Regions from separate parts of the Homo sapiens genome. Here regions 1, 2, 4, 5, 6 and 7 are each linked to region 3. Evidence: promoter capture Hi-C in 16 types of primary human blood cells and fetal thymus (Javierre and others, 2016). All regions are on one chromosome and are shown on one strand. Each heading gives the region's core, a stretch centred on a gene start or on the middle of the fragment in contact. The rest is flanking DNA. Distances are from core to core; before and after follow the strand shown.

Region 1 (2,700 bases), core at 51-2,550, 410 kb after region 3:
GACTCTCAACGAGCATGCTGCCTTCAAGCATCTGTTTAACAAAGCACATCTTGCACCGCCCTTAATCCATTTAACCCTGAGTGGACACAGCACATGTTTCAGAGAGCACAGGGTTGGGGGTAAGGTCATAGATCAACAGGATCCCAAGGCAGAAGAATTTTTCTTAGTACAGAACAAAATGAAAAGTCTCCCATGTCTACTACTTTCTACACAGACACAGCAACCATCCAATTTCTCAATCTTTTCCCCACCTTGCCCCCTTTTCTATTCCACAAAACCGCCATTGTCATCATGGCCCATTCTCAATGAGCTGTTGGGTACCTCCTCCCAGACGGGGTGGTGGCTGGGCAGAGGGGCTCCTCACTTCCCAGTAGGGGCGGCCGGGCAGAGGCGCCCCTCACCTCCTGGACGGGGCGGCTGGCCGGGCGGGGGGCTGAGCCCCCCACCTCCCTCCCGGACGGGGCGGCTGGCCGGGCGGGGGGCTGAGCCCCCCACCTCCCTCCCGGACGGGGCAGCTGGCCGGGCGGGGGGCTGACCCCCCCACCTCCCTCCCGGACGGGGCGGCTGGCCGGGCAGAGGGGCTCCTCACTTCCCAGTAGGGGCGGCCGGGCAGAGGCACCCCTCACCTCCTGGACGGGGCGGCTGACTGGGCGGGGGGCTGACCCCCCCACCTCCCTCCCGGACGGGGCGGCTGGCCGGGCGGGGGGCTGAGCCTCCCACCTCCCTCCCGGACGGGGCGGCTGGCCGGGCGGGGGGCTGACCCCCCCCACCTCCCTCCCGGACGGGGCGGCTGGCCGGGCGGGGGGCTGACCCCCCCCACCTCCCTCCCGGACGGGGCGGCTGGCCGGGCGGGGGGCTGAGCCCCCCACCTCCCTCCCGGACGGGGCGGCTGGCCTGGCGGGGGCTGACCCCCCCACCTCCCTCCCGGGCGTGGTGGCTGCCGGGCGGAGACGCTCCTCACTTCCCAGACGGGGTGGCAGCCGGGCGGAGGGGCTCCTCACTTCTCAGACGGGGCGGCCGGGCAGAGACGCTCCTCACCTCCCAGACGGGGTCGCGGCCGGGCCGAGGTGCTCCTCACATCCCAGACGGGGCGGCGGGGCAGAGGTGCTCCCCACATCTCAGATGATGGGCGGCCGGGCAGAGACGCTCCTCACTTCCTAGATGGGATGGCGGCCGGGAAGAGGCGCTCCTCACTTCCCAGGTGGGGAGCACTGAGTTAACGAGACTCCGTCTGCAATCCCGGCACCTTGGGATGCCGAGGCTGGCGGATCACTCGTGGTTAGGAGCTGGAGACCAGCCCGGCCAACACAGCGAAACCCCATCTCCACCAAAAAAATACGAAAACCAGTCAGGCGTGGCGGCACGCACCTGCAATCGCAGGCACTCGGCAGGCTGAGGCAGGAGAATCAGGCAGGGAGGTTGCAGTGAGCCGAGATGGCAGCAGCACAGTCCAGCTTTGGCTCGGCATGAGAGGGAGACCGTGGAAGGGGGAGGAGAGAGGGGAGAGGGGATTTTGTACTTTTTGTAGAGATGGATTTCACCATATTGGCCAGGCTAGTCTCGAACTCCTGACCTCAAGTGATCCACCCTCCTCGGCCTTCCAAAGTGCCGGGATTATAGGCATGAGCCACCGCGCCCAGCCGATTATTAGCTCTTGATACAATACTTTCAGAATCTGAAACGGAGAGGGTAAGGAACTTCAGCGAAGTCATGCAGTGACCAGAGGACAACGCGTAAGTGCTGACAGGTTTGAGGAATGACTCTGTCATGGCACCAAACTCAAAAGGTATTCATTAACTTTTCTTTGAGCCATAAAAAGGATCAAATGTGTCATTTCAACAAACACACAGACACTTGCCTGCTGTCAAAAGGAAATGGGGGCCAGCCACAGTGGCTCATGCCTGTTATCCCAGCACTTTGGGAGGCCGAGGCGGGCAGATGACAAGATCAGGAGTTTGAGACCAGCCTGGCCAATAAGGTGAACCCCCGTTTCTACTAAAAATACAAAAATTAGCCAGGTGTGGTGGCTTGTGCCTGTAGACCAAGCTACTCGGGTGGCTGAGGCAGAAGAATCGCTTGAACCTGGGAGGCGGAGGTTGCAGTGAGCCAAGATGGCGCCTCTGCACTCCAGTCTGGGCAACAGAGTGAGACTCTGTCTCAGAAAAAAACAAAAACAAAAAAAAAAAATGGGTGGCTGAAGTGGCATTCTAATCCTCTGAAATCATTTCCCAAAGGTAATTAGCTAATGGGTATCACAACATCCTACACCCTCAGAGCAAGTGAAGGGAGGGCACTGGACTAGATGCTCACAAATGAAAACACACAGATTTTGGGTACATGCAATTGCTCTACCTCAGGGACATCAACATTCAGAACTCTCTCCTTTTCACAATGTTTCTATAAAGACAGGGATAGGCTAGGTGCGGTGGCTCACGCCTGTAATCCCAGCACTTTGGGAGACCATAGGCGGGCAGATAACCTGAGGTGAGGAGTTCGAGACCAGCCTGGGCAACATGGCGAAACCCCGTCTCTACAAAAATACAAAAATTAGCTAGGTGTGGTTGTGCACACCTGTAGTCCCAGCTACTTGAAAGGCTGAGGTGGGAGGATCACTTGAGCCTGGGAGGCAGACGTTGCAGTGAGCCAAGACTGTGCCACTGCACTCCAGCCTGGGCAACAGAGCGAGACTCCATCTCAAAA
Region 2 (2,779 bases), core at 207-2,706, 370 kb after region 3:
GTAGTCCCAGCTACTCAGGAGGCTAAAGCAGGAGAATCATTTGAACTGGGAAGGTGGTGGTTGCAGTGAGCTGAGACGCGCTACTGCACTCCACCCTGGGAGACAGAGCAAGACTCTGTCTCAAATAATAATAATAATAAAAGATTATACTGCCACCAAAAACATAGTAACATGTGGGAAAGAAAAGCAAGACACAGATGTTTTATTTACAACATAATTATAATAAAAATAGGTATGCATGGCCGGGCGTGGTGGCTCATGCCTGTAAGCCCAGCACTTTGGGAGGCTGAGGCGGGTGGATCACCTAAGATCAGGAGTTCGAGACCAGCCTGGCTAACATGGTGAAACCCCGTTTCTACTAAAAATACAAAAAATTAGCTGGGCATGGTGGCACGTGCCTGTAATCCCAGCTGCTCTGGAGGCTGAGGCAGGAGAATCACTTGAACCCAGGAGGCGGAGGTTGCAATGAGCTGAGATCACACCATTGCACTCTGGCTTGGGCAAGCGGAGCGAAACTTCGTCTCAAAAAATAAATAAATAACAAAAATAAAAATAGGTATGCATATAAATACAGATTGTAGAAGAATACAGAACTCAAACTAGAAAATCAGACTCTTCTTAGAGGATACTGAGGATGGTTCATCCCATTGGGGTGCCCTGTAGATACCTGGAGCTCTTTTGGTTCCTGCTCTGAGTTCTGCTTATCCAGGATTTTCTTCTGGGAACCTCCCTCTATTAGTTAGAGTACAGAGTATGCTGTAATAATAAAGAGACCCCAAAATATAGTGATTGAATTAAGATGGAAGCTTATTTCTCATCTAACAGTCCAGAGGTAGGAGTGGTGGAGGCTATAGGGTGGATCAGCTTCATTAATTCATCCATGGACTCTGCTGTTTTGGTTTTATTTTGGTTTGGTTTGGTTGTTTTTTTTTTTTTGTTTTGTTTTGTTTTGTTTTGTTTTCCAATCCTGCCCCTTCTGCATTCACTGGTTTCTTTCCTCGACCCTAGGTATTTTTCCTAATTTGCATGGTTAAAGGTGGGGCACTGCAGTGGATCTGCACTGGCGCCACCTAGCGCTGGAAAGGCCAAGAGGGCCAAAGTAGAGGGCAACCGATTTCTTTTTAAGCAAGTGATGCAGAGGACACATACAACTTTCATTCATATTCCATTAGTGAGAACTTGACCACACTTGGTTGTAAGGAAATTCAGGCAATGTGGTCTCTAGCTGGGATTCATGTGCCCAAGTAGCAATGTATTAGCACTGTAAAAGGGGAGAACCGACTTTGGGGGACAACTAACATTTCATGATCTGCCCATTTTCTTCTGACCAACTTCCTCGAGATAATTTTCTTTCTTCTGAATTTCCTAAAGAGAGGTTCGTTTACTTCAGTTTACAGACAGTCCTTGTTTGCTTCAATGTACCTTAACCGATGCCTCATTCTTCAGGCCCTAATTTAAATGATACCTCCTAAAAGAGGCTTACCTGACTACATTCTCAAAAGCAGGTGCCCCACCTGCTTCCTACCACCATTGTTCATATCTCAGTACTGTGCTTCCTTCACCGGTACTTATCACAGTTTGAAATTATAATTTTTTTTGCTAAGTTTTTGTCTGTCTCTTCCACTCTGTCTCTTTTCTTCACCACCACATCTCTACCACCTAGTACAGTGCCTGTCACTGGATAAGTAAAAAGTAAGTATTTGGTATTGAATGGATGAAATAGTAGTCAAGGATGACTCTGAGAGTTCTGAAGTGAGCAACTAAACATACTGATGAGCCAGGCACAGTGGCTCACGCCTGTAATCCCAGCACTTTGGGAGGCCGAGGCAGGTGGATCATGAGGTCAGGAGTTCAAGACCAGCCTGGCCAACATTGTGAAACCCCATCTTTACTGAAAATACAAAAATTAGCTGGGTGCGGTGGTGGGCACCTGTAATCCCAGCTACTGAGGAGGCTGAGGCAGGAGAATCACTTGAACCCAGGAAGCGGAGGTTGCAGTGAGCCGAGATCGTGCCACTGCACTCCAGCCTGGGCAACGGAGCAAGACTCTGTCTCAAAAAATAAATAAATAAACATATTGATAAAAAGAAAAAATGGGTAAGCTTGGAGGAAGAAGAGAAGATGATCAGTTTTGTTTGCAAATACTGAATTTGAAGTTTTGAATGATTTCAAGGTGACATCCAGAAGGCAACTAAAAATGTGAATCTGAAGCTCTGGAAACAGCATCAGATTGGAACTACAGATTTGAGAGCCTTGAGAATTTATTACATCACTCATGAAGAACACGGTGAGAGAACAGAGAACATTTAGGAGGGAACTGTAAGGAACAAAAACATTTGCTGGGTGGGCAGAAGAGAGAGCCTGGGAGGAAATATCAGGGGCTGTGAACAAGAACCAGGGAGAAGAAACGTTCAGGGAGGAAACAGCAGTCACAAGTGACAGAGATTGGTGGTAAATTACATCACCTATGTCAGAAAGGGTCCCTTAGACCTGCCAATTAGGAGGCTTGGGTATCGTAGCCTTAGCTAGAATAGTTTCAGTGGATTGGTGGGCTATGGACTGAAGACAGAAGGTTAAGAAGCAAATGTAGCAATTGTAGAACATGGTTTCAAGAAGTGCAGCCATGAAAACAACAGACAGATTTCATTTAGAAAGGCAAGGTCAAAGGAGTTTTTTTACTTTTTTTTTTTTTTTTTTTTTAGAAGAAAGGCAGCTTGGAATCTGTATAAATGAAAGAGAGAGATAGAATGGGTAAAAATGATTGATGGAAGAATTTTGA
Region 3 (2,922 bases), core at 345-2,844:
ACATGGTCTAGTAGTTTGACATCACAGTAGTTTATAGCTGGAGTCTGGGAACAGGAGAGAAAAGTAAGGACCCTCTATATAAGCCAAAGTCTTCGCTCTCACAGACTGAAACATTAATGGGAGAAATACAAGCATTTTACCATCCCACCTTTTATCCCAAGTACATGTGAATGGATATGGCCATTTATTAGAGGATGTTCTTGATTTAGTGGATACTTTAGTGGATTAGAAAAATAATCTTATTTTCCAACTCTGCCATTCTGATTTTGCCCAAATGAAAAAGTGGTGCATGTTTTGGGGAGAATAATTGCTCAGCTACTGATGCCGGAACTGAATTGTAGTACTGACTTATTTTTTGTACCCTGTTCGTCTTTTCCCTTTCTCACTGCTGGTGGCTAGGGACAGGGAGTAAAATATCTTCTTTACAACCTGTTAAAAGTAATGTGCTCAGCCTCTTTAGTGGGATGAAATTTGTGGTAATGAGTTACCAGAGCCTATGCCTCTTTGGATTGAAAAGCTTGTCAGGATCTTTTCTGGGTTGCTAATGAGTGTTTCCTAGACGCCGATCCAGGTTTTGTAGGACCTGAAGCCTACACAATTTGGATGACACGATTAAGAAAACAATTCGAAAATATCTTGAAAGTTTTGTAAAAACGATATGATTTTGTGAACGCACAGGGGCCCGTGCAAGTGAAGGACCTTTCAATTCAAGCTTGATCAACGTCACTGTCATCTGCCCCTTCTGACCCTACCACCAGGCTAAGGGCTTTCCACGCCTCATCTCTCGGTCCCCACACCATCACCCTAAGAAATAGTTACTGTATCTCCTAACGATATATTATATATAGTACCTACTTTGTGTAAACATACGGTACTCATGAAAACAAGCCACGTAGAGCACAAATACGTTAAATATCCTGTCCAGCCCGAATGCCCCTTTCTCTCCACGTCCCTATGCAGCCTCCCACGACGGTAGTCCTGGGGCTCCAGCGCTACAAGAGTGGCACCGAGTCCGGATTGTCTTAAGCAGGTCGAGAGGAGGGAGCATATGGGTAAAAAGCAGTCAAACTGAAGAGTCTGGAGCGGCCCCCAGCACAGTCTCGGGAAAAGCGGACTCCCCCGGGGCCCCAGGCCCCGCACCCCCGCGCCGGGCTGGCGCCTGTGCCTGCTCCGCGGCGCGCATGCTCCGTGTTAGGCCTCTTGGGCTATTCGGGATAATGAGCGCCGGGCCGAGGGGGCGGGCCGAGCCTCGGCTGCTGGGACTCAGGGCTCAGCGGCGACCCCAAGGCACTCTGCGCTGCTGCTAAAGGGGCAGCAACGGCGGCCAGCGCTGTGCGCGCCATAGCGAGGCTCGCTCGCCCGACGCGCACTCCGGGTCGGTCCCCAGAGCTCTGTGGAGGTGACTCGAGTGGGCAGGGCCGGGCGGCGCTGTCGGCTGGGAGGGCGGGGAGGAGGCGATGAGGAGACGAGCAGCCGCCGCCGCCGCCGCCGCTGCTCACCGCCCGCCGCGGCCGTAGCGGGAGTCGGGGCGGGGCTGGGCCAGCTGTACCCCTGACGGGCCGCGAACCCAGACAAAGGAGGAGGAGCCGCCCCAGAAGCGGGCCAGCGCCGCCGGGAAAGGAGGTCGCCGCCCGGGGTCGCCCGGGCTTGCGGGTCGCCGCGCTTCCTCTGCGGGCGCTGCGGGAGGCGAGGGCCGCCTCGGCGGAGGAAGCCGACCCCGGGGTCTCCGCCAGCCCGCCGGCGCCGCCTCCGAGCCGCCTCGGCCGTAGCCTCGGCCCGGGCGGGAGGCGGCGGCCGCCGGCGAGGCGAGGCGGCCCGCGCCCTGCCTGTCAGGCCACCGGCCCGGCCCGCGGGCTGCCCCCGATGCGGAGGCGCTGTCGCCGGGGCCATGCAGCAGGCGCCGCAGCCTTACGAGTTCTTCAGCGAGGAGAACAGTCCGAAATGGCGGGGACTGTTGGTCTCGGCCCTGCGGAAGGTCAGTGCTAGGGGCGGGGCGGCCGGCGGGTGGCCCGTGGCCCCCCGAGCTTCTAACGGGGAGCAGGTCGTCCCTCCCACAGGGCTCGAGTCCCCGGGGCCGAGCCGTTTCTCGTTGGCTGGCAATGGGGGGCTCACAATTGCCTGTTGCATTCTGAAGGACGTTTCTCAAGTTTTTTTTTTTTGCCTGGTCCCGGAAGGAAGGTTTTGTTATGATCATAAAACTGGATTTCATGTTGCAGTCATTTCGTCAGGCAACTTCCGCCGTTGACCAATTTGTTGTCCTCAGGCTGGAATCGGGCAAGAGAAAGTCCCGCTGGTATTTAGACAGTTTCTAAAACAAAAGCACATTTTCAGGCCGGGTAATTACTTTTAATTAAGTTCTTTGGGAGTGTTCCCCCTAGGCGGTTTGCTTGTCAAGGGTATCCACTTATGAGGCAATGGTTTTTTGTAATATGGATGTTTCACATGTGTGAAATGTCAGTGAGTCATAATATTCTTATTCATTTTACAGTTCTCAAGGTAAATTTAAAGCGCCTTCCCACTTCCTGCAAACGGTGTCTTACCTGTTTACAAGAGATTACCCTTAGAAAATTTGGTCAGTGTCTTCAGTGTCTTCACGACCAAATTGCGATTTAGGACTTGAAATCATTTTAAGGAACAAGAAAGGGGCAACTCCTGCAAATCAGTCTTTCATGTTTGGGTGCATTGCTAGGGTGCATCTTTCCTGTAGATGGTGGCGGTCTTCCTCTGTGAATTTAGGTAGTAACCATACGATCATTTTTATAATAAATCCTTCTGTAAGATCAAGACATTTAAAGACTGTGAATAGGTGCGTGATCAGCTGTCATGCCTGTTGAGCAGGGGCTTTCTTTCTTTGCCGTTAATGCAGACTTAGTCTCTTCTGCCTTTTGTGCAAAATAACCAAGAATACATTCTAAAATAAGG
Region 4 (2,700 bases), core at 163-2,662, 440 kb after region 3:
TTGCTGCTGAATATTTCCAACCAAAATCTTCTGATTTTGTAGAGTAAAATGAAAAAAATGAAAGAAAAATACAAAGACCAGGATGAAGAAGACCGTGAACTTATCATGAAGTTGCTGGGGGTAAATAACATCTAAAAACATTTTTTCTTTTGCTTTTCAAATGGGCATCTAGCCCACTGCCTAGCGTATGACAGGCATTCAATACATTCTTGTTAAAATATTCACAGTATTGAAAATACAACACTGACTGATGTTTCCTCTATGAATTAAAGTCTGCAGGTTCAAACAAAGAAGAAAAAGGGAAGAAGGGGAAGAAAGGAAAAACAAAGGACGAACCTGTGAAGAAACAGCCCCAGAAACCTAGAGGTGGACAGAGGGTCTCTGACAACATTAAGAAAGAAACTCCGTTCCTTGAGGTTATAACTCATGAGTTACAAGACTTTGCTGTAGATGATCCACATGATGACAAGGTATGGCTACTTTGTGGGCTTCTGCTTCTTAATTAGGGTGATTACCCATCCTGGAGTTCCCAGGACATGGGACTTTCAGTGCTAAAACCAAGACAAGTGAGTAACCCTATTCTTAATGGAATGTCATCCAGAAATACAACCTGAAAGACTAAAATTGCAGTATCTTATCTAAGCATGATAATGGTAGTACTGATAGCTGATAACAATTTTGTTACAAGCCTTTAGGAAGTAATCAGTTTTAAGGAGAGGCTTTGATTCTGATGGGAACTGAATTAAATTAAGACAGAGAGGCCTGGCACGGTGGCTCACGCCTGTAATCCCAGCACTTTGAGAGGCCAAGGCAGGCAGATCACAAGGTCAGGAGATTGAGACCATGCTGGCTAACGTGGTGAAACCCTGTCTCTACTAAAAAAATACAAAAAAATTAGCCGGGTGTGGTGGTGAGCGCCTGTAGTCTCAGCTACTTGGGAGGCTGAGGCAGAATAGCGTGAACCTGGGAGGCAGAGCTTGCAGTGAGCCGAGATTGTGCCACTGCACTCCAGCCTGGGCGACAGAGCGAGACTCCATCTCAAAAAAAAAAAAAAAAAGAGAGAGAGAAAATTGGGATTGTCTTGAAGATGTGTAGAAAATAAATTTTCACTTTCTCTAAGCTTTTCTATAGGAATCTATGCCATATGGTCGTACATAATGTTGAAAATGAGTACACCATTTAAGAGCCAAGTACTCTGGTTACAAAACCAGTGAGTTCGTATTTTTCCAGCTAAGATGATTGCCTAATTGTTTTATTAACAGTACAGCAAGCCCAGCCTTCTGTATATCTTCTTACATGAATATGTACCTCTTCTTGAATTTTTTTTTTTTTTTTTTTTGAGGCAGTCTTGCTCTGTTGCCCAGGCTGGAGTGCAGTGGCACAATCTCAGCTCACTGCAACCTCCACCTCCCGGATTCAAGCAATTATCCGGCCTCAGCCTTCTGAGTAGCTGGGATTACAAGCATGCACCATCACGCCTGGCTTATTTTTGTATTTTTAGTGGTGATGGGGTTTCACCATGTTGGCCAGGCTGGTCTTGAACTCCTGATCTCAGGTGATCCGCCTGCCTTGGCCTCCCAAAGTGTTGGGATTACAGGCGTAAGACACATGCCCAGCCTGTTTATTTTTTAATAACGGCTTAAAATAGAGGCCAGATAAAAAATTTTTACCTTTGTCACCAGCATTTTTTTTATGTAAAGCTTGAGTTATAATTGTGTGCTCAGTTTAGTGCAGGTAATGCTTACAGGGATTCTGTATTACTATTTTCTTTTTTTTCCTGCTGAACAGTTGTTGTTTAGTAATACTAAAACTCGTTTTGGCTTTTAAAATTTGTACAATATCCTTATGTTCTGTAAATCCTAGACTCACAAATACTCACTAGAGGTGTTAATTATTAATGTTCTTTCATGAGTAGGTGCTATGGTCTAAATGTTAATATCCCCCCACAATTCATATATGGGAACCTAAATACCCAGTGTGATGGTATTAAGAGGTTGGGCCTTTAGGAAGTGAAGTCACGAGGGCTCTTCTGTCATGAATGAGATGAGTGCCCTTTTGCCACGTGAGGACACTGCAATAAGGTGCCATCTTTTTTTAAGATGAGGTCTCCCTGTGTTGCCCAGGCTGGTGTCGAACTCCTGGGCTCAAGGGATCCCCCGACCTTGGCCTCCCAAAGTGCTGGGATTACAGGTATGAGCCACCACACCCAGCCTAAGGTACCATCTTTGAGGCAAGCCCTTATCAGACATTGAATCTGCTGGTGCCTTGATGCTGGACTTCCCAGCCTTCAGAACTGTAAGAAGTAAAATTTCTGTTGTTTCTAAATTATACAGGCTAAGGTATTTTGTTACAGCAGCCTGAACAGACTGAGACAGTCAGTTATCTCCAGATAGATTTTTCTTAAGCAAACAAAATTAAGCATATTTTATGGGATATGGGAAAAATTTATCCAAAACTGTTGAACAGATATTTAAAAATAAAAGTTCTGTTGACCAAAATTCTCCATTTGCTTTTCTCCTGGCAAACTTATCAACCTTAGTTGTCATTTTAAATTGTACTTGTAACTTTTGCTGCTTTAACATATACTTTATATGAAAGTTTCAGTTCCCACCTCCTCTACTTCAGAGAACTACCCTTCTTCTCTTGAATGACATTACTTTCTTAAGTAATAAAACAGACACACACAAACACATATACGAA
Region 5 (2,700 bases), core at 107-2,606, 460 kb after region 3:
GAGATCTACAGTAAGTAAAATATTTAAAGCATAAAGTTCTCACAAAGCACACCATGGGGAAAACTACTTTGTAAATCCGCAACCATGGCTAACCCAGCATTTTGAGAAACACCTTGATTCTACCAGGGACATGCTCTTGACTACTACTGTTATGAAACTGCAAAAGATCATTTCAGATTATCTCCAGTTTACAAAAAGGGCAAACTGGAGGTCATTTTGGTTTTTAAACAGAACAACACTATTTTTAAAAAGATTTGCATGCAAATTTTGAGAGCTTATTAAAATAGAATACCACCTTTATTTTTAGCAGATAAAATTCTATACAATCTAAAATCTAACAATTTAACCATTTATAAATTCCTTTCCTTATTCAAGAGATCATATAACAGAAGACTTAACATCTTGAAAAAAATGGAACACTTATTTTTCCATTCTGGATCTGAAGCCTCTACATCTATTTTAAATATTACTATGATACTTGAGATAGAAATTTATTCTAAGTTCATAAAAGTATCTAGTAACTACAGAACAGGTGCTAAATTAAGCTTAGCAGCTAAGCTAAAGTAGCAGAACAGTGTTTTTAGAATATATAAGTAGCTTAGAAAGTGTTTTACATTTTTTTCTTTGCAGCCATATCTGATTTGTTTGTTTTTGGAGACAGTTTTGCTCTGTCACCCAGACTGGAGTGCAGTGGCTCGATCTCAGCTCACTGCAACCTCCGCCTCCCAGATTCAAGCGATTCTCCCACCTCGGACTCCCAAGTAGCTGGAATTAGCACGCCACCATGCCTGGCTAATTTTTGTATTTTTAATAGAGATGGGGTTTCACCCCAGCCTGGTGTTGAACTCTTGACCTCGAGAGATCCGCCCGCGTTGGCCTCCCAAAGTGCTGGGATTATAGGCATGAGCCAGCCACCGTGCCCAGCCCTTATCTGAATTTTTTAGTCCCCCTTATAATATCCACATTTACCATCTTCCAGTCTCCATGTTGTAGATCCATAGTTCTTCTCTAGGCAGATAAAAGTCATATAATCCTCTGACTTGATTACTCTAAGAATAAAAAAAATTGTAAATATAAAAACTGGTATTTTAAAGAGGCACTACTGTATTTTTTAAATCGATCTTGAGATACTAATTTCATAATTAGTATGAAAAATAGGTATTACAGTGCACAATCCTCCCCCACCCATGCCACACACTCAAGGTAAAGCTCAACATAGATAGCTCTTAATTCAGAATTTTGATACAGCAGTTGCAATAGGACAAGAAGAGATCTCTGGGAACTTTTTTTTTTTTAGTCCAAGTCTCTATTGCTCAGGATGGAGTGCAGTGGCGCAATCTTGGCTGGCTCACTGCAATGTCCACCTCCTGGGTTCAAGTGATTCTCCTGCCTCAGCCTCCTAAGTAGCTGGGACTGCACGCACTCGCCATCACGCCTGGCTAATTTTTGTATTTTTAGTAGAGACAGGGTTTCACCATGTTGGCCAGGCTGGTCTCAAACTCCCAACCTCAAGCAATCCACCCACCTCAGCCTCCCAAAGTGCTGGGATTACAGGCTGTGAGCCATTGTGCCCAGCCAAGAGATCTCTGGGAACTCTCTAAGGCAGCTTTATCCTGAACAGAACCATGCACCAAATTTCAGCTGCATGACTTCAGGAGACTGCCTGTGCCATGGTCAGCAGGCTGTTACTGAAAGTGCCTGATCCACGCTAACACGATGCGTGGTTTTCTAGCCATGCCTTCCTTTCACCTATCCATTCTCTAAGCAGCAATAGAGAGGGCAGAACTGCAAATATGCAAAATATTAAATCCTTATGCAGAATTTTAAGTTCTTTGTTCTGCTCCATTTCCCTTCAGGTATTAATTCCTAACACAGACTGAGCCTACCATATGCCACAGCTGAAAGCTATCCATGGATTGCTTTATTTAATCCTCACAACAACCCTAAAAAGTAGCTGATGTTATGAGAAAACAAGTTTAGAGTTTAAGTAATTTGCCCAAGGTTATTTATGAAGTAATGATGGAGCCAGGATTCTATCCTTTCCCTGAACTTTAACAACTGCCTGACATTCCCAGCCTTTGACCCTCCCTAGCCACTTTCTGAACAATGTTGACACAGTAAACGACTGCGGTTAGCCAAAAATGGGTGTCAAAGTCCAGCAAGCTTGAATATTAAACATACAGAAACAGAACAGTTGACCACGTAAAACAACTTCTTTTTCCACCCCACCAGTGATGAAGGGAAAGGCTGGAAGCGGGCTGACCCACAGGGGACCAGCCTGTCCTGGGGAGGAAAACTGCCTACTATGTAGGAAGCCAAGGTTTATTGCCTTTGAAACAATCTCCAAGGACTTCTGTGCCTACCCTCAGGGTTCCAGCCACCAGCCATAAATGGGGAGGGCAGTCTGTTTCAGAACCATCCAATTCAGTGATTGTGCTGCTCCTCCCTGAATCGGCCCCAATCATCCAGGCCCTTTTAAATCCACAAGAAATATTCCACACTAAGAATCCTCCCCTGCCCCACTCCCAAAGTCTTATTCTCTCATGCTGTCATTTTAAAAATACAATTATGAATTAGGTAGCTTAGAAGTGTCATTGACAGGTTTCTCCAGGGGAATTAATTTACATTTTTATAAGGGTGACTACATGCTTGCCCCCCCGCCCCCCTTCTTGCAATTCTCTACCCCTTTCTAAAGTATTT
Region 6 (2,874 bases), core at 128-2,627, 390 kb after region 3:
GCCTGTAGTCCCAGCTACTCTTGGGAGGGTGAGGCAGGAGGATTGCTTGAACCTGGGAGGCAGAAGTTGCAGTGAGCCAAGATTGTGCTACTGTACTCCAGCCTGGGTGACAAAGTGAGACTCCGTCTCCAAATAAATAAATAAATAAATAAATAAGTAAAGGTTGGCTGGGCACAGTGGCTCATGCCTGTAATCCCAGCACTTTGGGAGGCTGAGGTGGGCGGATCACGAGGTCAGAACTTCGAGACCAGCCTGACCAACATGGTGAAACCCCGTCTCTACTAAAAATAGAAAAATTAGCCGGGTGTGGTGGCACACGCCTGTAATTTCAGCTACTCAGGAGGCTGAGGCAGGAGAATCACTTGAACCTGGGAGGCGGAGGTTGCAGTGAGCTGAGACTGTGCCACTGCATTCCAGTCTGGGCGACAGAGCGAGACTCTCTCTCAAAATAAAGTAAATAAATAAAGGTTGTGGCTTATGAGTGAGGTCATTAGGACCACAACAAGGAATTTAGCAGTGGTATAAAGCAACAAAGCAAATTTTGCTATAGGTCCATCATTCTCTACTTAAAAATTGAAAATAAAAGCCTGGCTCAGTAGCTTACGCTTGTAATCCCAGCACTTTGGGAGGCCAAGGCAGGAGGATTGCTTGTGCCCAGGAGTTTGAGATTAGCCTGGGCAACATAGTGAGACCCTGTCTCTACAAATAATGAAAAAATTAGCTGGGGATAGTGGCATGTGCCTGTGGTCCCAATCCTCAGGAGGCTGATGCAGGAGGATCACCTGAGCCAGGGAAGTCGAGGCTGCAGCGAGCCATGATCACACCACTGGGCTCCAGTTTGGGTGACAGAGTGAGACCCTGTCTTAAAAAAATGCAAATAAAACACTGTTTCAGAGTTAGTGTTTATAATAAAATGTTTTCCCTCTGATTATCATCTGCAATCTATTACTTTATGACTATACTGTTATTCACAACGTTTTAAATATTCCTGATGATAATGAAAAGAAGCTTATTTATAAACCAATACCAAATGGTTAGGAATTCACTTTTACTAAATGAATGCCTTTTTCTTTCTCTTGCTAGTGCCGAAAACATTTGAAGAGTCGGAGATTAGTCAGTGCAAAACAGCTTGGTGTGGATAGAATTGTAGATTTTCAATTTGGAAGTGATGAAGCTGCTTACCATTTAATCATTGAGCTCTATGATAGGGTAAGTTAAATTTGTGGGATATGGTGAAGGAAAATTTCTTATTAATCATTTTGTAATAGTGCTATATAACATGAGTGGGGGAACATTTTTTTTCTGTGTCAAAGGTTGTTACTACCCTAGGAAATGGGTGCCACACAAATAAAATAAAATTTTCCAGTAATAACCTTCATTTTATCTGTAGGTCTGAGTTTAGGCAGACTTTAGCCATTTAGAATAGCCTTATGAATGTAGGAGATGAAGATCTGAGAAGTAAATTATTTGGTACTTGACATTTCAGGACTAATATGCAACCAGAAAATAGTCAAATACGGTCATGCACTGATGCGCTGTATGTATAGTGATGTTTCAGTCAACAACAGACTGCATATAAACGTTGGTCCTGTAACATTGTAATGGATCTAATAAATTCTTACTGCTTAGTGACATCTTGATCCTGACTCTGTGTAGGCCTAGGCTGGTGTGTGAGTTTGTGTGTTAGTTTTTAACAAAAACATTAAAAGTAAAAACAAAACAATTTAAAATGGAAAAAAAGCTTAGAGAATATGGATCTAAAGAAAGAAAGTATTGTACAGCTGTACGATATGTGTTTTAAGCTAAGTGTTATTACAAGAGTCAAAAAGCTAAAAAGTTTAAAGTTTATAAAGTAAAAAAGTTCCAGGAAGCAAAGGTTAATTTATTATTGAAGAAAGAAAAACATCTTAAAAATAAATTTGGCTGAGCGCAATGACTCAGGCCGGGCACAGTGGCTCACACCTGTAATCCTAGCATTTTGGGAGGCCGAGGAGGGCGGATCACCTGGGGTCAGATCACCTGGGGTCAGGAGTTCAAGACCAGCCTGGCCAACATGGCAAAACCCCGTCTCTATTAAAAAATACAAAAATTAGCTGGGCGTGGTGGCGGGCACCTATAATCCCAGCTACTCGGGAGGCTGAGGCAGGAGAATCACTTGAACCTGGGAGGCAGAGGTTCCAGTGAGCTCAGATTGTGTCACTGTGCTCCAGCCTGGGCAACGGAGCAAGACTTTGTCTCAAAAATAAACTAACTAACTAACTAACTAACTAACTTAATCTGGGCCAGGTGTGGTGGCTCACACCTGTAATCCCAGCACTTTGGGAGGCCAAGGCGAGTGGATCACCTGAGGTCAGGAGTTTGAGACCAGCCTGCCCAATGTGGCAAAACTGCATCTCTACTAAAAATACAAAAATTAGCCTGGTGTGGTGGTGCGTGCCTGTAGTCCCAGCTACTCGGGAGGCTGAGGCAGGAGAATCACTTGAACCTGGGAGGCAGTGGTTGCAGTGAGCTGAGATCATGCCATTGTACTCCAGCTCAGGTGACAGAGTGAGATTCAGTCTCAAAAAGGAAAAAAAAAATATATGTGTGTGTGTGTGTGTGTGTGTGTGTGCGCGCGCGTGCGCGTGCGTGTGTATGTATATAAATAAATAAATACATAAATTTAATCTGGTCTGAGGTAAGCATAATTTTTTTAAAAATTAAAAAATAAAAAACAAATTTAGTGTAGCCCAAGTGTGCAGTATTTATCAAGTCTACAGTAGTATGCAGTAATGTCCCAGGCCTTCACATTTACTCACTGTCACTCACCCAGAGCAGTTTTCAGTCCTGCATGCTCCATTCATGGTAAGTGCCCTATACAGGTGTTCCATTTTT
Region 7 (2,700 bases), core at 41-2,540, 500 kb after region 3:
TTCTGAGACTTTCATGGTTTTATGGTATTTAATGGTACTTATACTTTGGAATAATATATAGCTCTGATTCCATCTCATTATACAAATTGCTAAGTTGATAGCTAAATATATTTGTTCTATTGTTAAATACATATTATGAGCTACAAATAAAATCCGACTTTACTCCATTACCTGTTCACCTGAGATGACCCCATTCAACCACTTCTTCATTTCTTCTACTGATCAATCCTCAAAAACTACTTAGTATAAAACCAGTACTTTTATATAATCTAATTTCAACTGTTAGTATTTTCATGTTTTATCTTGTCTGGTTAAGGAACAAACTCTATTTAAATCTATATAGTCCTTGCTTAGACATACGATCTGAAGGAAAAAAATACCAGTCCAGTTTTAAAGACTCACATTTGGATTATGGTGACATACAGACACATACACATGCCTATAGATTAAAACGTACTTAGACTTCAAACTTACCTTCCAGACCAAGTCCAGGTGTCTAGGTTTAGATAGTGCAAATCATTCATCCTAGTTTGCTAAAAGAAAAGTGTGTTACATTGGTCAGTATTTCACATCTTTTATCAGCTAAAATTTTTCTTTTAAAGTAAGTTCAGATTAAAAATAGACTATCTCTATTTTACTTCACATAAGATGTTTAACTATTGGAAAACAATGCTAAGCATTAATAAGACTGACACAGAGCTCCCAAATCAATGTGTCAAAGGGGAAAGGAAAAAATAGGAAGAAATAGGTTTAAATTCACAGGCTTTAGATGACAAGAAATTAATTTTTTCTGATACTGCACTGAAAGATTCTCCTCATTAAAATATGATTTATAATCATCTATGATTGTTCATGTATGGTCTGTTTATGAATTAGAAGATAAATAAAATTAGTATTGAATGCCATTTTAATCTCTAGATTACATGAATGTTCAATTATTCCACGAAATCAGAGGATAAATTTTTATAAGGAGCATTGCACATAAAAATACCATTTCCATTAAAAACACTAACCAGAACACGTCCGCCAAAGATATAACCCTTATTTCCAAGAACTGCACATGTATGCGCGGCTCGTGGCTGTGGTGGAACTCCACCCTGCAAGTAGAAATCAGAACAGACTGCAAAGACTTGAAATATCTGTAATAAAGTTACATTCCTATGCTCAGTATGTGAAAGTCTTAATCACTAAGTTATCATTACCTATGTAATTCAATTAAAAACGCTAATGCAAAAGTTTATTCTAAATAGTACTAATTGTAGACAAATACTATTTGTCAGAATACATTTTATTCTCCCTGATCTTTACTTTTGAAAATGTTTTTCTTATATGTCTGACACTATTTAGCAAAATAAGGTTTCATGTAAATTTTTGTTTGAAATACTGTATAAAGATTTTAAAATCAAATTTTAAAATGTTCTCTCTCTCCCTCTCTCCTCTGTTTCTCTTTCACACACACAGAGTTCCCATTAGAAGTGAGCAGTGCATATTGCGATTATCTCAGAAACTCTGTAAAATTAAAAATGGCCCCAAAACTCTTGGTGCCTCAAATTTACAATAAGAAGTTCACTCTTGGCTTAAGCCAGACAGTGCTCTCTCTCTTACTAAAACTCTTAACATTAATTGATAACACTTCTCTACACTTTATTTTGAATAAATATAGCAGACCTTTTCTTTAGAGAAGTTTTGTTTTTTGTTTCAAGGCAGAGTCTTGCTCTGTTGCCAAGGCTTGAGTGCAATGGCACAATCTCGGCTCACTGCCACCTCCACCTCCCGGGTTTATGCGATTCTCCTGCCTCAACCTCCCCAGTAGCTGGGATTACAGGTGTGCAACACCAGGCCCGGCTAATTTTTGTATTTTTAGTAGAGATGAGGTTTCGCTCTGCTGTCCAGGCTGGTCTCAAACCTCCTGGCCTCGAGCGATCTGCCTGCCTCAACCTCCCAAAGTGCTGAGATTACAGGCGTGAGCCATTACGCCACCCTAGGGAGGTTTTTAATTGGTGGAAAAAGTGAGTATCATGGGTAGATGAATGAATAAGGTTTGAGGGAAAAATCTTCTGCATAATTTCCATATTTTCATGGTGGGTGCCTTTATGTATGTATTTTAATTCCAAGTTCTGAAAGAACCTGACATTTTCAGCTCACTGGCTACTCAAAGTGGGTATAGGAAATTAAAGCTCTGCATCCAATATCATAACTTCCTAAACTTTTCAGGCTTATTTGAATAACTGTGCTGAGGTCAACTTGGTAAGACATAATTCAGATATTACCTATATAACACTTAAATGAGAACCACTTAAGAATTTTGGTTCCCAGCCCTTCCAGCAAAACAAAATTTTTATTATTACCCCAGGCTTGATCTGAAATTTTGGAAGAATTCTTCTACTATATAGAAGAGAATAGAAGAGTACTGGAAATCTGAAATTTATTGCCTGGAAAAAGAGAATCCAGAGAATGGCCAAACTCTAATACTTACGATTTTGTATAGACCTTCCCATCATTTCCATGAACAGAAGTTGGACTGTAAGGAATTCTGGTCATATATGTGTATTAGTAGACATGTATGTAACTGTGCATATACGACCTGCTTAGCATTCCACTCTGTTCAATTCTGGTAAGCTTATCAGTCACAATAGCCTCCTGTTCCTAGCAATGAACATGTGACTCAAGACTGGCCAATCATCCCTTTGGCATCAGGAA

What was found. Contacts are between HindIII fragments. The CHiCAGO score rates a contact against its expected background, and 5 or more counts as called.
Region 1: a fragment that was not itself captured here is called in contact with the fragment with the promoter of SOS2 in region 3 in 3 of 17 cell types (total B cells, naive CD8 T cells and naive CD4 T cells); the score reaches 7.2 in total B cells.
Region 2: a fragment that was not itself captured here is called in contact with the fragment with the promoter of SOS2 in region 3 in 9 of 17 cell types (fetal thymus, erythroblasts, non-activated CD4 T cells and 6 more); the score reaches 8.7 in fetal thymus.
Region 4: a contact is called between a fragment that was not itself captured here and the fragment with the promoter of SOS2 in region 3, in 1 of 17 cell types (total B cells). The highest score is 5.2, in total B cells.
Region 5: a contact is called between a fragment that was not itself captured here and the fragment with the promoter of SOS2 in region 3, in 9 of 17 cell types (non-activated CD4 T cells, fetal thymus, activated CD4 T cells and 6 more). The highest score is 9.9, in non-activated CD4 T cells.
Region 6: a fragment that was not itself captured here is called in contact with the fragment with the promoter of SOS2 in region 3 in 9 of 17 cell types (total B cells, naive B cells, activated CD4 T cells and 6 more); the score reaches 9.8 in total B cells.
Region 7: a fragment that was not itself captured here is called in contact with the fragment with the promoter of SOS2 in region 3 in 1 of 17 cell types (total CD8 T cells); the score reaches 5.4 in total CD8 T cells.

The regions. Positions count from the first base shown.
Region 1 is chr14:49,819,429-49,822,128 of GRCh38, reverse strand. The region is part of intron 16 of NEMF (nuclear export mediator factor); the gene reads left to right. Among named protein-coding and RNA genes, the nearest start is that of NEMF, 32 kb to the left of the region's middle. RefSeq lists an enhancer at 1-473. The HindIII fragment of the contact is 6,022 bases long and covers 1-2,700 here.
Region 2 is chr14:49,863,844-49,866,622 of GRCh38, reverse strand. It overlaps LOC105378179 (a long non-coding RNA gene), which reads left to right. Exons shown (of 3, transcript XR_943839.3): 2 at 2,174-2,779. Among named protein-coding and RNA genes, the nearest start is that of NEMF, 12 kb to the right of the region's middle. The HindIII fragment of the contact is 1,296 bases long and covers 809-2,104 here.
Region 3 is chr14:50,230,250-50,233,171 of GRCh38, reverse strand. It overlaps SOS2 (SOS Ras/Rho guanine nucleotide exchange factor 2), which reads left to right and starts at 1,594. Exons shown (of 23, transcript NM_006939.4): 1 at 1,594-1,975. The coding sequence starts at 1,889. RefSeq lists an enhancer at 683-772 and a silencer at 923-2,002. The HindIII fragment of the contact is 6,352 bases long and covers 715-2,922 here.
Region 4 is chr14:49,786,916-49,789,615 of GRCh38, reverse strand. NEMF (nuclear export mediator factor) reads left to right here. Exons shown (of 33, transcript NM_004713.6): 27 at 43-120; 28 at 273-470. Among named protein-coding and RNA genes, the nearest start is that of KLHDC2, 20 kb to the right of the region's middle. The HindIII fragment of the contact is 580 bases long and covers 1,123-1,702 here.
Region 5 is chr14:49,769,943-49,772,642 of GRCh38, reverse strand. It overlaps KLHDC2 (kelch domain containing 2), which reads right to left. Exons shown (of 13, transcript NM_014315.3): 2 at 970-1,049. Among named protein-coding and RNA genes, the nearest start is that of KLHDC2, 3.1 kb to the right of the region's middle. The HindIII fragment of the contact is 1,618 bases long and covers 548-2,165 here.
Region 6 is chr14:49,844,475-49,847,348 of GRCh38, reverse strand. It overlaps NEMF (nuclear export mediator factor), which reads left to right. Exons shown (of 33, transcript NM_004713.6): 4 at 1,084-1,209. Among named protein-coding and RNA genes, the nearest start is that of NEMF, 6.9 kb to the left of the region's middle. The HindIII fragment of the contact is 733 bases long and covers 1,011-1,743 here.
Region 7 is chr14:49,727,323-49,730,022 of GRCh38, reverse strand. It overlaps KLHDC1 (kelch domain containing 1), which reads right to left. Exons shown (of 13, transcript NM_172193.3): 7 at 1,014-1,097; 8 at 475-533. Among named protein-coding and RNA genes, the nearest start is that of KLHDC1, 36 kb to the right of the region's middle. The HindIII fragment of the contact is 2,662 bases long and covers 1-2,621 here.